3 separate regions of the Homo sapiens genome follow, and regions 1 and 2 are each linked to region 3. Evidence: promoter capture Hi-C in 16 types of primary human blood cells and fetal thymus (Javierre and others, 2016). All regions are on one chromosome and are shown on one strand. Each heading gives the region's core, a stretch centred on a gene start or on the middle of the fragment in contact. The rest is flanking DNA. Distances are from core to core; before and after follow the strand shown. Region 1 overlaps GYS1 (glycogen synthase 1). Region 2 overlaps GYS1 (glycogen synthase 1). Region 3 holds the start of DBP (D-box binding PAR bZIP transcription factor).

Region 1 (3,971 bases), core at 1,430-3,929, 330 kb before region 3:
GGAGAAGTATGTGAGGGTGCAGGAAAAACGAACATTTATAAAACCATGAGATCTCGTGAGAATTCACTCACTATCATGAGAACAGCGGCGGGGGAACCACCCCCGTAATCCAATCATTTCCCTCCCTCGACACGTGGGGACTACATTTTGAGATGAAATTTGGGGGGGAACACAGAGTCAAACTATATCATAAATATATATTTAATACATTTTACTATTTGTTTCTTTTTTGAGATGGGGTTATTACTCTGTTGCCAAGGCTCACCTGGAACTCCTAGGTTCAGGTGCTTCTGCCTCAGCCTCTTGAGTATCTGTCATTATAGGTGCATCCCACCATGCCTGACAGATGTATTATATTTAGTGCCTATTTTTGCAGTTTACAGATGTTTTTAGGAAAACTTACATAAGAATTATAGATCAGGCCAGGCATGGTGGCTCACGCCTATAATCCCCACACTTTGGGAGGCCGAGGTGGGAGGATCACTTGAGGACATGAGTTTGAGACCAGCCTGGCCAACATGGTGAAACCCTATCTCTACTACAAATACAAAAATTAGCTGGGGGTGGTGGCAGGCACCTGTAATCCCAGCCCTTCGGGAAGTTGAGGTGGGAGAATCGTTTGAACCCCAGAGGCAGAGATTGCAGTGAGCTGAGATCGCGCCACTGCACTCCAGCCTGGGCGACAGAGTCAGACCCTGTCTAAAATAATAATAATAATAATTATAGGTCAGGGGCAGTGGCTCACACCTATAATCCTAGCATCTTGGAAGGCTGAGGTGGGAGGATAGCTTGAGCTCAGGAGTTCAAGACCAGCCTGGACAACATGGTGAGACCCTGTCTCTATAAAAGATTTTTTTTTTTTTTTGAGACAGAGTCTTGCTCTATTGCCAGGCTGGAGTGCAGTGGCACAGTCTTGGCTCACTGCAACCGCCTCCCGGGTTCAAGTGATTCTCCTGCCTCAGCCTCCAGAGTAGCTGGGACTATAGGCGCCTGCCACCACACCCAGCTAATTTTTGTATTTTTATTAGACACAGGGTTTCACCATGTTGGCCAGGATGGTTTTTTTTTTTTTCTCTTCTTGACCTCGTGATCCACCCGCCTTGGCCTCCCAAAGTGCTGGGATTACAGACATGAGCCACCGTGCCCGGCCTTTTTTTTTTTTATTTTTAATTAGCCATGCGTAGTGTTGTGTGCTCGTAGTCCCAGCCTCTTGGGTGGCTGAGGTGGGAGGATTGCTTGAGCCTAGGAGGTCAAGGCTGCAGTGAGCTATGATCAAGCCACTGTCCTCCAGGTTGGGTGATAAAGTGAGACCTTGTCTCGAGAAAAAAAAAAAAAAAGCATTGGGCCAGGCGCAGTGGCTCACACCTATAATTTGACCACTTTGGGAAGCCAAGACGGATGGATCACCTGAGGTCAGGAGTTCAAGACCTGCCTGGCCAACATGGTGAAACCCTGTCTATACTAAAAAATACAATAATTAACTGGGCATGGTGGTGTGTGCCTGTAGTCCCAGCTACTCGGGTGGCTAAGGCACGAAAATCGCTTGAACCCGGGAGGTGAAGGTTGCAGTGAGCCGAGATTGTGCCACTGCACTACAGCTTGGGTGACAGAGTGAGACCCTGTCTCGAAAGAAAAAAAAAAAAGCATAAAAATCCATCAAAAAATTATAATACATTCCTTGAACTATTTCTCAAGGTTGTTAAAGGTATTAAACAAGACGTACTAGATGCTCTGTACACAGGGATACTAATAATGAGAGACCTTATCTTACCCCCCATCAAAATAGACTAAGTCCGTACAAGATACTGGCACAAGAAAGGATCTTACAGGTTGTGACAATTAAGTAGAATGATGGACCTTGGCCCGATCCTACAGGTTGTGAGAGTTAAGTCAAATGGATATTGGGATGCTCAATAAATTAGCATCCTTATCTCCCAACTATGGACTTTCCCGCATCTTGGAGCAAGAGCAAGTAATTCTCTTTTCTGAGCCTCTTAGCGTCCCCTCTGAGAAATAGGGAAATGCACAGCCTGGTTGTGGGGGCTCAGCGACGCTCCGCACAGCGCCTGGCACTTGGTACAGGCGCCAGTAGAGGGCGGTGTTGAGGCGTCTATTGCGATTAAGACGGTAGGCGATGAGGGAAGCTAAGTGGGTCTCTCTCCTGCCTTCCCGCAGCTGAGTGCACGGTTATGGGAATCCCCAGTATCTCCACCAATCTCTCCGGCTTCGGCTGCTTCATGGAGGAACACATCGCAGACCCCTCAGCTTACGGTCAGCGCCCAGGCCCCTGAGGATTCTGGAAGGGGGCTTGAGAACAGTGACTCCTGGATCCTGGGAAGGAGGAGCTTGCACCCTTGGAGACCAGGGGCACCAGGAAATGGGGGGGCTCTCGGGCCGCTGGGAGAGGAGGGGTCCTGGTGCCACAGAGTCCTGGAGACCATGAAGATCTCCCCAGGATGTTTTCTGAACCTGGGTCCTGGCCTCCACAGGTATCTACATTCTTGACCGGCGGTTCCGCAGCCTGGATGATTCCTGCTCGCAGCTCACCTCCTTCCTCTACAGTTTCTGTCAGCAGAGCCGGCGGCAGCGTATCATCCAGCGGAACCGCACGGAGCGCCTCTCCGACCTTCTGGACTGGAAATACCTAGGCCGGGTAGGACCCCCACTTTCCTATCCTCTCCTGGCAAATCAGCAGCTCCTGGCTAGGGGTCTTTGGTGCAGGGTGCAGGGTCTCATCCTACTTGTAACAGTTGCTGTCCCTTTAAGCAATGAACCAGGCCGATCGCGATGGTGGCTCATGGTTGTAATCCCAGCACTTTGGGAGGCCTAACAGGAAGGATCGCATGAGCTCAGGAGTTAAGAGACCAGCCTGGGCAACATTTTATTTTTACTAAAAATAAAAAAAAATCAGCCGAGCGTGATGGTGCGTGCCTGTAGTCCCAGCTACTGGGGAGGCTGAGGTGGTAGGGTCGCTTGAGCCCCGGAGGTTGAGGCTGCAGTGAGCCTTGTTCAAACCCACTGCACTCCATCCTAGAGTAACAGAACAAGACCGTGTTTAAAAAGAAAAAAAGAACATTGGTCAGGCGTTCTCATTTGCATAAGGGTGTGGCCAAAGAGGAGACTCACTTGAGAATTCGGCCCCTGTTTGAGGGGTATGGCTCAGAAACTGTCCATTCACAGGTCTGCTTATCTACATAAGGGGTGGAGTCAGATAGATGGATTATTTGTATGGGGTGCAGCAGTGTGCTCATCTGCATAAAGGGTGTGGCCAAGACCCCCATCATCTGCCTGGGGGTGGGGCCTGGCTCTCACATCCTCTGCCCCCTCTCCTCCTTTCCCCTAGTACTATATGTCTGCGCGCCACATGGCGCTGTCCAAGGCCTTTCCAGAGCACTTCACCTACGAGCCCAACGAGGCGGATGCGGTGAGTGGACCCTGGATTTCTGCTTAGCCAGGAGCTAAAGGGCTGGGCTTCGGTGGGGTGGGGGTCCCTCCTGGAGTGGGAAGGCCTAGAGGTGGCTGGATGCCTGGGTGGGACTGTGAGGTCCTCAGCTCACCCTGGTTTGCACCCACATCGCCGTATGCAGGCCCAGGGGTACCGCTACCCACGGCCAGCCTCGGTGCCACCGTCGCCCTCGCTGTCACGACACTCCAGCCCGCACCAGAGTGAGGACGAGGAGGATCCCCGGAACGGGCCGCTGGAGGAAGACGGCGAGCGCTACGATGAGGACGAGGAGGCCGCCAAGGACCGGCGCAACATCCGTGCACCAGAGTGGCCGCGCCGAGCGTCCTGCACCTCCTCCACCAGCGGCAGCAAGCGCAACTCTGTGGACACGGCCACCTCCAGCTCACTCAGCACCCCGAGCGAGCCCCTCAGCCCCACCAGCTCCCTGGGCGAGGAGCGTAACTAAGTCCGCCCCACCACACTCCCCGCCTGTCCTGCCTCTCTGCTCCAGAGAGAGGATGCAGAG
Region 2 (3,781 bases), core at 1,274-3,773, 350 kb before region 3:
CACGCTGTTGTCCAAGGAGAAAGCCATCAGGCGGCACGCTGTTGTCCAAGGAGAAAGCCATCAGGCGGCAGGGCTAAGGGACAGACAGGTCCAGGCTGGGGATGGAGAGGCACTGTGGTTCCTTTACTCATTCACAGCCTCTGGTTTGGGGTGGGGTCTGGAATCCATTCAGGTCCGACTGTGTCCCTAAGGGAACCCAGAACAGCCCAGTCGCTTCCTGAGGGCAGCTGCTTCCCACGTGCTGGGGGCCTAAGAATAGCCCCCCCCCCCCCCCAGCAAAAGGGCAGACAACAGCTGGGAGGGGGAGGGACCTCAGAGCGAGGCTCCAGGCAGCAAAAAGCCAGGTCGGCGAGGAGCGGGGCTGCTTCTCCACTGCTGTGGCAGCAGGCCCAGAACCAAAGCCATGGTCTCAGGGAGGAAAACAGCCAACTGGAGAAATGTGGCAGAGGCAGAAGTGAGACAGCAAGTCTTAGAAACACGGCAGTGGCTAGAAAAATGCAGCCCTGGGGCACGGACAGAGGATGGGCTATGTTAGAAATGTGTGGCGTGGCCGAGGGCGGTGGCTCATGCCTGGAATCCCAGCACTTTGGGAGGCCGAGGTGAGAGGATAGCTTGAGCCCAGGAGTTCCTGACCCACCTGGGCAACATGGCGAAACTCTGTCTCTACTAAAAATACAAAAAATTAGCCAGGCATGATGGTGCGTGCTCGTGATCCCAGTTACTCAGGAGGCTGAGGTGGGAGGATGGGATGTGGAGGCTGTAGTGAGCCATAATTTTTTTTTTTTTTTTTTCAGATAGAATCTCACTCTGTCGCTGAGTCTGGAGTGCAGTGGTACAATCTCGACTCACTGCAACCTCCGCCTCCCGCGTTCAAGCAATTCTCCTGCCTCGGCCTCCCAAGTAGCTGGGACCTCAGGCACATGCTGCCACGCCCGGCTAATTTTTTGTATTTTAGTAGAGACAGGGTTTCACCATGTTGCCCAGGCTGGTCTCAAACTCCTGAGCTCAGGCAATCCGCCCGCCTCGGCCCCCCAAAGAGCTAGGATTACAGGCGTGAGCCACCGCGCCCAGCCCAGTGAGCCATGATTGCACCACTGCACTCCAGCCTGGGTGACCGGAGTGAGACCCTGTCAAAAACAAAAACAAACAAAAAAAAATGGAAGAAAGAAAGAAAAAGGAGAGAGGGAGGGAAGGAGGGAGAGAGGGAAGGAAGGAAGGAAGGAAGCAAGGAAGGAAGGAAGGAGGCTGTGGACTACAAAATGGGCCTATGGATAGAGGAAAGAGGTCGCAGGTGACAGATATGTGATGAAAGGAACAGAAACAAGGCATCATGGGGAAGAAAAGTGGCAGCATGAACAGTAAGAGAATCATTACAGGCTGGGTGCAGTAGCTCACGCCTGTAATCCCAGCACTTTGGTAGGCTGAGGCCAGGAGTTTGAGACCAGCCTGGGCAACATGGTGAAACCCTGTCCTTACAAAAAAGTTAAAAATTAGCCGGGATGTGATACCTTGTGCCTGTGGTCCCAGCTACGTGGGAAGCTGCGGTGGAAGGATTGCTTGAGCCTGGGAGATCGAAGCTTCAGTGAACCGTAATTGCACCACTCCCTTCCAGGCTGGAGGACAGAGCAAGACCCCGTCTCTGAAAATAAAAAAGGGCCTGCTTTAGGTGGCTCACACTTCTAATCTCAACACTTTGGGAGGCTAAGCAAGAAAACTGCTTGAACGCAGGAGTTCACGATCAGCCTGGGCAACATAGTGAGACCCCATCTCCACAAAAAATTAAAAAATCAGCCTGGCATGGTGGCCCACGCCTGTAGGAGGTGAGGTGGGAGGATTGACTGAGCCAGGGAGGTTGAGGCTATAGTGAACCATGTTCACACCACTGCACTCCAGCCTGGGCAACAGAGCGAGACCCTGTCTGAAAACAAAAAAGAAGCATCCCGTGGAAGGAATTAGCATCAGAAAGAAAAGACAGTGGGAGATGCAGATGGTTGGTAAGAGAAATGTGGCAGCAAGTACAGAAACAAGGCAGCAGGTAGGGGAAATGATTTGCAGAGTGGCCAGACAGGGCAGTGGGGGCATAGACACAGGACATGTGACATATGTGGTTATAAGCAGAGAAAGGAGGCAGCGAGTGGGAGAAGGGTAGCAGTTACAGGAATTAAACAGGAGGCTGGGTGCGGTGGCTCACGCCTGTAATCCCAGCACTTTGGGACGCCGAGGCGGGCGGATCACAAGGTCGGGAAATGGAGATCATCCTGGCTAACACAGTGAAACCTCGTCTCTACTGAAAATACAAAAAAAAGTAGCCGGGCGTGGTGGCGGGCCGCTGTAGTCCCAGCTACTCGGGAGGCTGAGGCAGGAGAATGGTGTGAACCCAGGAGGCAGAGGTTGCAGTGAGCCGAGATCATGCCACGGCACTCCAGCCTGGGCAACAGAGCCAGACTCCGTCTCAAGAAAAAAAAAAAATTAGCCAGGTGTGGGAGCGGGTGCCTGTAATCCCAGCTACTTGGGAGGCTGAGGCAGGAGAATTGCTTGAACCCGGGAGACAGAGGTTGCAGTGAGCTGAGATCGCACCACTGCACTCCAGCCTGGGCCACAGAGTGAGACTCCATCTCAAAAAAAAGAAAGAAAGAAAGTAAGCAGGGGGCACGGAAAATATTGCAACAGAGATGGAAAAAATGTGTAGCAGGAATAAATCATGCAAATAGAGAAGTAAGGCTAAGGCAGCAGGTGAGAAATTAGCAGCAGATATGGAAACAGAAGATAAGAGAGCTGAGGCTTAAGTCTATAGACATCTGCCTGCAAATGGGAGAACCACGGATGAGTGAAGATATGAGGCTGAAGCCCAGAGCCTCCCTATGGTGCCTCCCCAACCCCATCCCAGGTGTATTTCGGGCGCTGGCTGATCGAGGGAGGCCCTCTGGTGGTGCTCCTGGACGTGGGTGCCTCAGCTTGGGCCCTGGAGCGCTGGAAGGGAGAGCTCTGGGATACCTGCAACATCGGAGTGCCGTGGTACGACCGCGAGGCCAACGACGCTGTCCTCTTTGGCTTTCTGACCACCTGGTTCCTGGGTGAGGTAGGCCCCGTCTGACACATTCCACCCATACCTGAAACTACAATGACCATCAGCCCCTGGGCCAGAGGATGGGCTTCTCCCTGGGCATTCTGGGAGTCATAGGGTCCTTTAATCCAAGGATTAGCTCTGGCCTTTGAGGACATGAACATCCAAGGGCCCAGGCTCTACTCTCGATGCCAACTTCATTTACTCTAGTCTTCCAAGCATAGGGATTCTTGGAATCAGCCTCAAAGTGAGGCTGGCGGGCTTGCCCGAGGAATTCTAGGAGTTGTAGTTCTCTAGTGTGATATTGCTGGACTCAGCTCTCAGATGCTGCCCTGGATGCTCATGAATCCCCAGCCTGACCTGGTTTTGACCCCCTTCTAGGTTTTAAGAGGCTCAAGAAGCTTAGTTTCCAGGCTGGGCACGGTGGCTCATGCCTGTAATCCCAGCACTTTGGGAGGCCGATGGGGGAAGATCACGTGAGGCCAGGAGTTCAAGATGGCCAAACCTCGTCTTTACTAAACATACAAAAAAATTAGCTGGGTGTGGTGGTGGGCACCTGTAATCCCAAATCCCAGCTACTTGGGAGGCTGAGACAGGAGAATTGCTTGAACCTGGGAGGCGGGAATTGCAGTGAGCTGAGATTGCATCACGGCACTCCAGCCTGGGCCACAGAGTGAGACACTGTCTCAAAAAAAAAAAGAAAAAGAAAAAAAAAAA
Region 3 (3,620 bases), core at 275-2,774:
ACTACCGCCTGCATGGTATGGTCCAGTCTGCACCCCCTCTAAGTCTTGGGCTAACCCTCTTATATGTGTCTCCCCTTGGTGTCTCAGTGTGATTCAGTCCCATCCTCCTTCCTGCGTCTATATGGTCTAGCCTCGTGAGCTGTCTCTTTTTCTCTCTTTCCCTACATGTCTATGTGGTACAGTCCACCTGCCAGCCCTAGGCCATTGCTAGCCCACGATTTGTCTTTCCTCTTCACTGCTTTGTAACTTGGTCTATAACCCTTGACCCCTGCCTTCCTATGGTCCAATTACCTACTGTTCTGTGCTTCCTATTACTGTGAATTTCCAAAATGGTACAATTTGGATCCTCTCTCCCTTTCCAAGTCGTACTACCTTACGCTGTTCCACAATCTGATGCTCCCTTCCCCCTTACTGAGAATCTACAAGGTACAACCCCTTCCCTCCACCTCTGCCTCCCTGTGGTTTAGCCCAGGAATCTCACACACCCCCGGCTTCGCAACATGGTACAGTCCACACCCCCCCCCCCCCATGAAGACCTTCAAGTAGTTCAGCCTACTGCTGAATCTGGACGTCCCGATTCCCCCCTCCTATTGGCTTCTTGTGGTTCAGCCCAGTGCTTCTCGACCTAGTACATTCTGGTTCCCCGCTCGCAGACTTCCGACGGTAGGGCCCAGCGCGGCGCAGCCCACGCCCCCTGCACACCCCCCGCCCCTTCCATCCTATACTGACGCCCCCTGCCGTTGTTCTCTGTCTTACAGTGGATGGTGTCCCCCATGGTCGCTGAGACTCCCCTTCGAGGATTGCACCCGCCCGTCCTAAGCCTCCCCACAAGGCGAGGGGAGTTACCCCTAAAACAAAGCTATTAAAGGGACAGAATACTTCCTGTTTTCTCAGTGGTCTGATTCTAGGCGCGGTGGGGAAACATTTGGGTATTAAAGAACAGACTTCTTCCGGAAACCAATCTTCCTCTTTCTAAACCTCCGCTCTCGGTATTTTGGCTTCCTGCTTCTCAAAACCATCTTTAGGACCGCGGCCCCTTTAAGCGGCGCCCCTTTTCCCCCCATCACCCCCCTCGCCATCAGGCAGCACGAGCAGAGCCATGTGCTTCCCCCTCCCGCCTGCCTCATTGGCCCAAACTGGGTCACGGTCCCGCCCCCCAGTACCGCCTCCCATTGGGCAAATGTAGGTCAGTGTCCCGCCTCCCACCGAAAGGCAAGGCAACTTCACGCGCTGAGCCCCTCACGCGCCCTCCTGGGCCCTGGCGGACCCAGAGGCCCCATTGGCTGTGCGTCTCAAGGTGTCGGAGACGATTGGTCCGTGTTTGCAGCCGGAGGGAGGCACGCGGCTGGGTTGCATGCCCATAGAGGCTGGCGGGGCTGGACGCGCCGGGCGGGGACCCGGAGGAGGGGCGCGCGCTGTGGCGTCGGGTGTTTTGGTTTGGATTTTTTTTTCCGCGAAAGAAGTTTGCTTTGGCCACGCCTCAAGGCGGCCGCCTCCTCCTGCCCCCTCCTCCGCCCCTCCGCGCACACCTCTCGGTGCAGATTGCAAAGCGCCTTCCGTTGCGAGAGCTGCAGATTTTGCAAGAGCCAGGCTCGCCCACCTTGTAGAAGGAGCGCCTTGAGTCCCCTCTCACCCTCGGTTGCAAAGAGCCGACCGCTTGATCTGGACACCCCCTCGCCCAGATTGCATGATCTCCCGGGACCCTCTTGAGTTGCACGTTTCTGCACCGAGGACCTCAAATCCCCGTCGCTCCTAGGATTTGCAGCGTTCTGGATACTGGAGGGTTGCAGGCTACACTCGCCCGCCCCTGGGCAGACACTCGTCCAAACCACTGGAGTGTGCTGGTGACTGGCAGGCCAGCCCTTCGCCTCTCCATGAACCCGTGAGCCTGGGGGCAGGTGCCAGGCGATGGCGCGGCCTGTGAGCGACAGGACCCCGGCCCCTCTGCTGCTGGGCGGCCCGGCCGGGACACCCCCTGGCGGGGGAGCGCTGCTTGGGTTGCGGAGCCTTCTGCAGGGGACCAGCAAGCCCAAAGAGCCGGCCAGCTGTGAGTTCTAACCCCCATCTCACCCACTTCGGACACCCTACCCCCTTAGGGACTCAGGTGCCGTGGGGTGGGGTCCCATAGAAACCTGCGTGCGGGGAGTCCATCTTCCCAACCTTAATCTACTCAATTACTCAGGTGTTTAGGCCCCTAGATCCCTTAGCGCCCAGGACCCAAAAGCGCCGGCTCTGAAGCCCGTCCACCCTAAGGACCCAGGCACCAACGTCCCCAACGTCCTCCCCGCTTAGTTCACAAGAGTGTAGGCCCCAGCCTCCTCTTCCTTTTGGTCCGGGAGTCTGGACCCCTGGGGTCCCAGGGAGGGGGTGTGTCGGGTGCTCACACGGTGGTGACACGGGCTTGGGCGGGGCGTCATGGGGTCACATGGAGTCTAGGGATGAGGGATGTGCCCCAGGAATAGAGCCCCTTCCTGCCCCTTACAGATGGTGGGGGAGGGGAAGGGGGTACAGCGCGCAGGGGATGGGGGTTGGGTAATTACAGTGAAATTACAGAGCTGTCATTTTTTCTCTCACCTGCCCAACCCTCCACCTACCCTGTCCCTGCCCCCCTATTCCTGAACTTCCGTCTCTCTTTCTCTGGTTCGCTGTCTTTCTGTGTGTCTATTCCTTCCCGGCATTCTGTCCCCATCTCTGTGAATCTGTCCACCTGTCTCTGCCACCCCCGTCTCCATTCTTTCTGGGTCTCTCTCCCACTCTGCGTCTCCGTCCCTTTTTCTCCCGTCTCTCCTCTCCGACCCCCCGTCCCCTCTTTCTCTGGATCTCCGCCCTGTGCCTCTCGGACTCGGGGTCTCTTCTCCATCTCTATCTCCCCCACCTCACCCTCATCCCAACCCGTCTTTCCCGGCCCGCAGGTCTCCTGAAGGAAAAGGAGCGCAAGGCGGCCCTGCCTGCAGCCACAACCCCTGGGCCAGGCCTGGAGACTGCGGGCCCGGCGGATGCCCCGGCTGGGGCAGTGGTGGGCGGAGGGTCCCCGCGGGGGCGCCCGGGGCCGGTGCCCGCCCCGGGTCTGTTGGCGCCACTGCTGTGGGAGCGCACGCTGCCGTTCGGCGATGTGGAGTACGTAGACCTGGACGCCTTCCTGCTGGAGCACGGGCTCCCGCCCAGCCCGCCGCCCCCCGGTGGCCCGTCGCCGGAGCCGTCGCCCGCGCGGACGCCCGCACCCTCCCCAGGGCCGGGTTCGTGCGGCTCGGCTTCCCCCCGCTCCTCTCCTGGGCACGCCCCCGCCCGGGCTGCCCTCGGGACCGCCAGCGGCCACCGCGCAGGTGCGGCGAAGGGGGCGGGGCGGGTCCTGACGGGGCGGGGCTTGGACTCAGGGGGCGGGGCTGTGCGACGCTGGGGGCTGGGACCGTGGGACCTGGCTGCGGCCTCGAATTCTGTGTCCAGTTGTCGAGAGGTGTCGTGGGAGGGGGCCAGATTCGGTGTCTCTTAATGGGTCAGGGACCAATGGATCCATGGGGGAGGAGAGACTTGGAACCCTAAATTCCAGGAAGCCTGCCCAATGAGATTTTGTGGGTTTTTCTGTGGGACTTGGGGACAAACGATGTGGATACTCGTGAAGC

The links. Contacts are between HindIII fragments. The CHiCAGO score rates a contact against its expected background, and 5 or more counts as called.
Region 1: a contact is called between a fragment that was not itself captured here and the fragment with the promoter of DBP in region 3, in 5 of 17 cell types (M0 macrophages, endothelial precursors, naive CD4 T cells and 2 more). The highest score is 7.4, in M0 macrophages.
Region 2: a fragment that was not itself captured here is called in contact with the fragment with the promoter of DBP in region 3 in 1 of 17 cell types (endothelial precursors); the score reaches 5.4 in endothelial precursors.

The regions. Positions count from the first base shown.
Region 1 is chr19:48,969,228-48,973,198 of GRCh38, reverse strand. It overlaps GYS1 (glycogen synthase 1), which reads left to right. Exons shown (of 16, transcript NM_002103.5): 13 at 2,176-2,271; 14 at 2,490-2,653; 15 at 3,344-3,424; 16 at 3,588-3,971. The coding sequence ends at 3,911. Among named protein-coding and RNA genes, the nearest start is that of FTL, 5.9 kb to the right of the region's middle. RefSeq lists a cis regulatory region at 1,851-2,371 and an enhancer at 2,348-2,875. The HindIII fragment of the contact is 5,397 bases long and covers 1-3,971 here.
Region 2 is chr19:48,986,492-48,990,272 of GRCh38, reverse strand. It overlaps GYS1 (glycogen synthase 1), which reads left to right. Exons shown (of 16, transcript NM_002103.5): 3 at 2,888-3,079. Among named protein-coding and RNA genes, the nearest start is that of GYS1, 4.9 kb to the left of the region's middle. RefSeq lists an enhancer at 117-508 and a silencer at 1,639-1,821. The HindIII fragment of the contact is 1,888 bases long and covers 1,580-3,467 here.
Region 3 is chr19:48,635,283-48,638,902 of GRCh38, reverse strand. It overlaps DBP (D-box binding PAR bZIP transcription factor), which reads left to right and starts at 1,524. Exons shown (of 4, transcript NM_001352.5): 1 at 1,524-2,047; 2 at 2,913-3,323. The coding sequence starts at 1,909. CA11 (carbonic anhydrase 11) reads left to right here. Exons shown (of 9, transcript NM_001217.5): 8 at 1-15; 9 at 759-957. The coding sequence ends at 784. It also overlaps the pseudogene SEC1P. RefSeq lists an enhancer at 307-476 and silencers at 1,087-1,306, 1,477-1,586, 1,817-1,936, 2,973-3,032, 3,153-3,462. The HindIII fragment of the contact is 6,625 bases long and covers 1-3,620 here.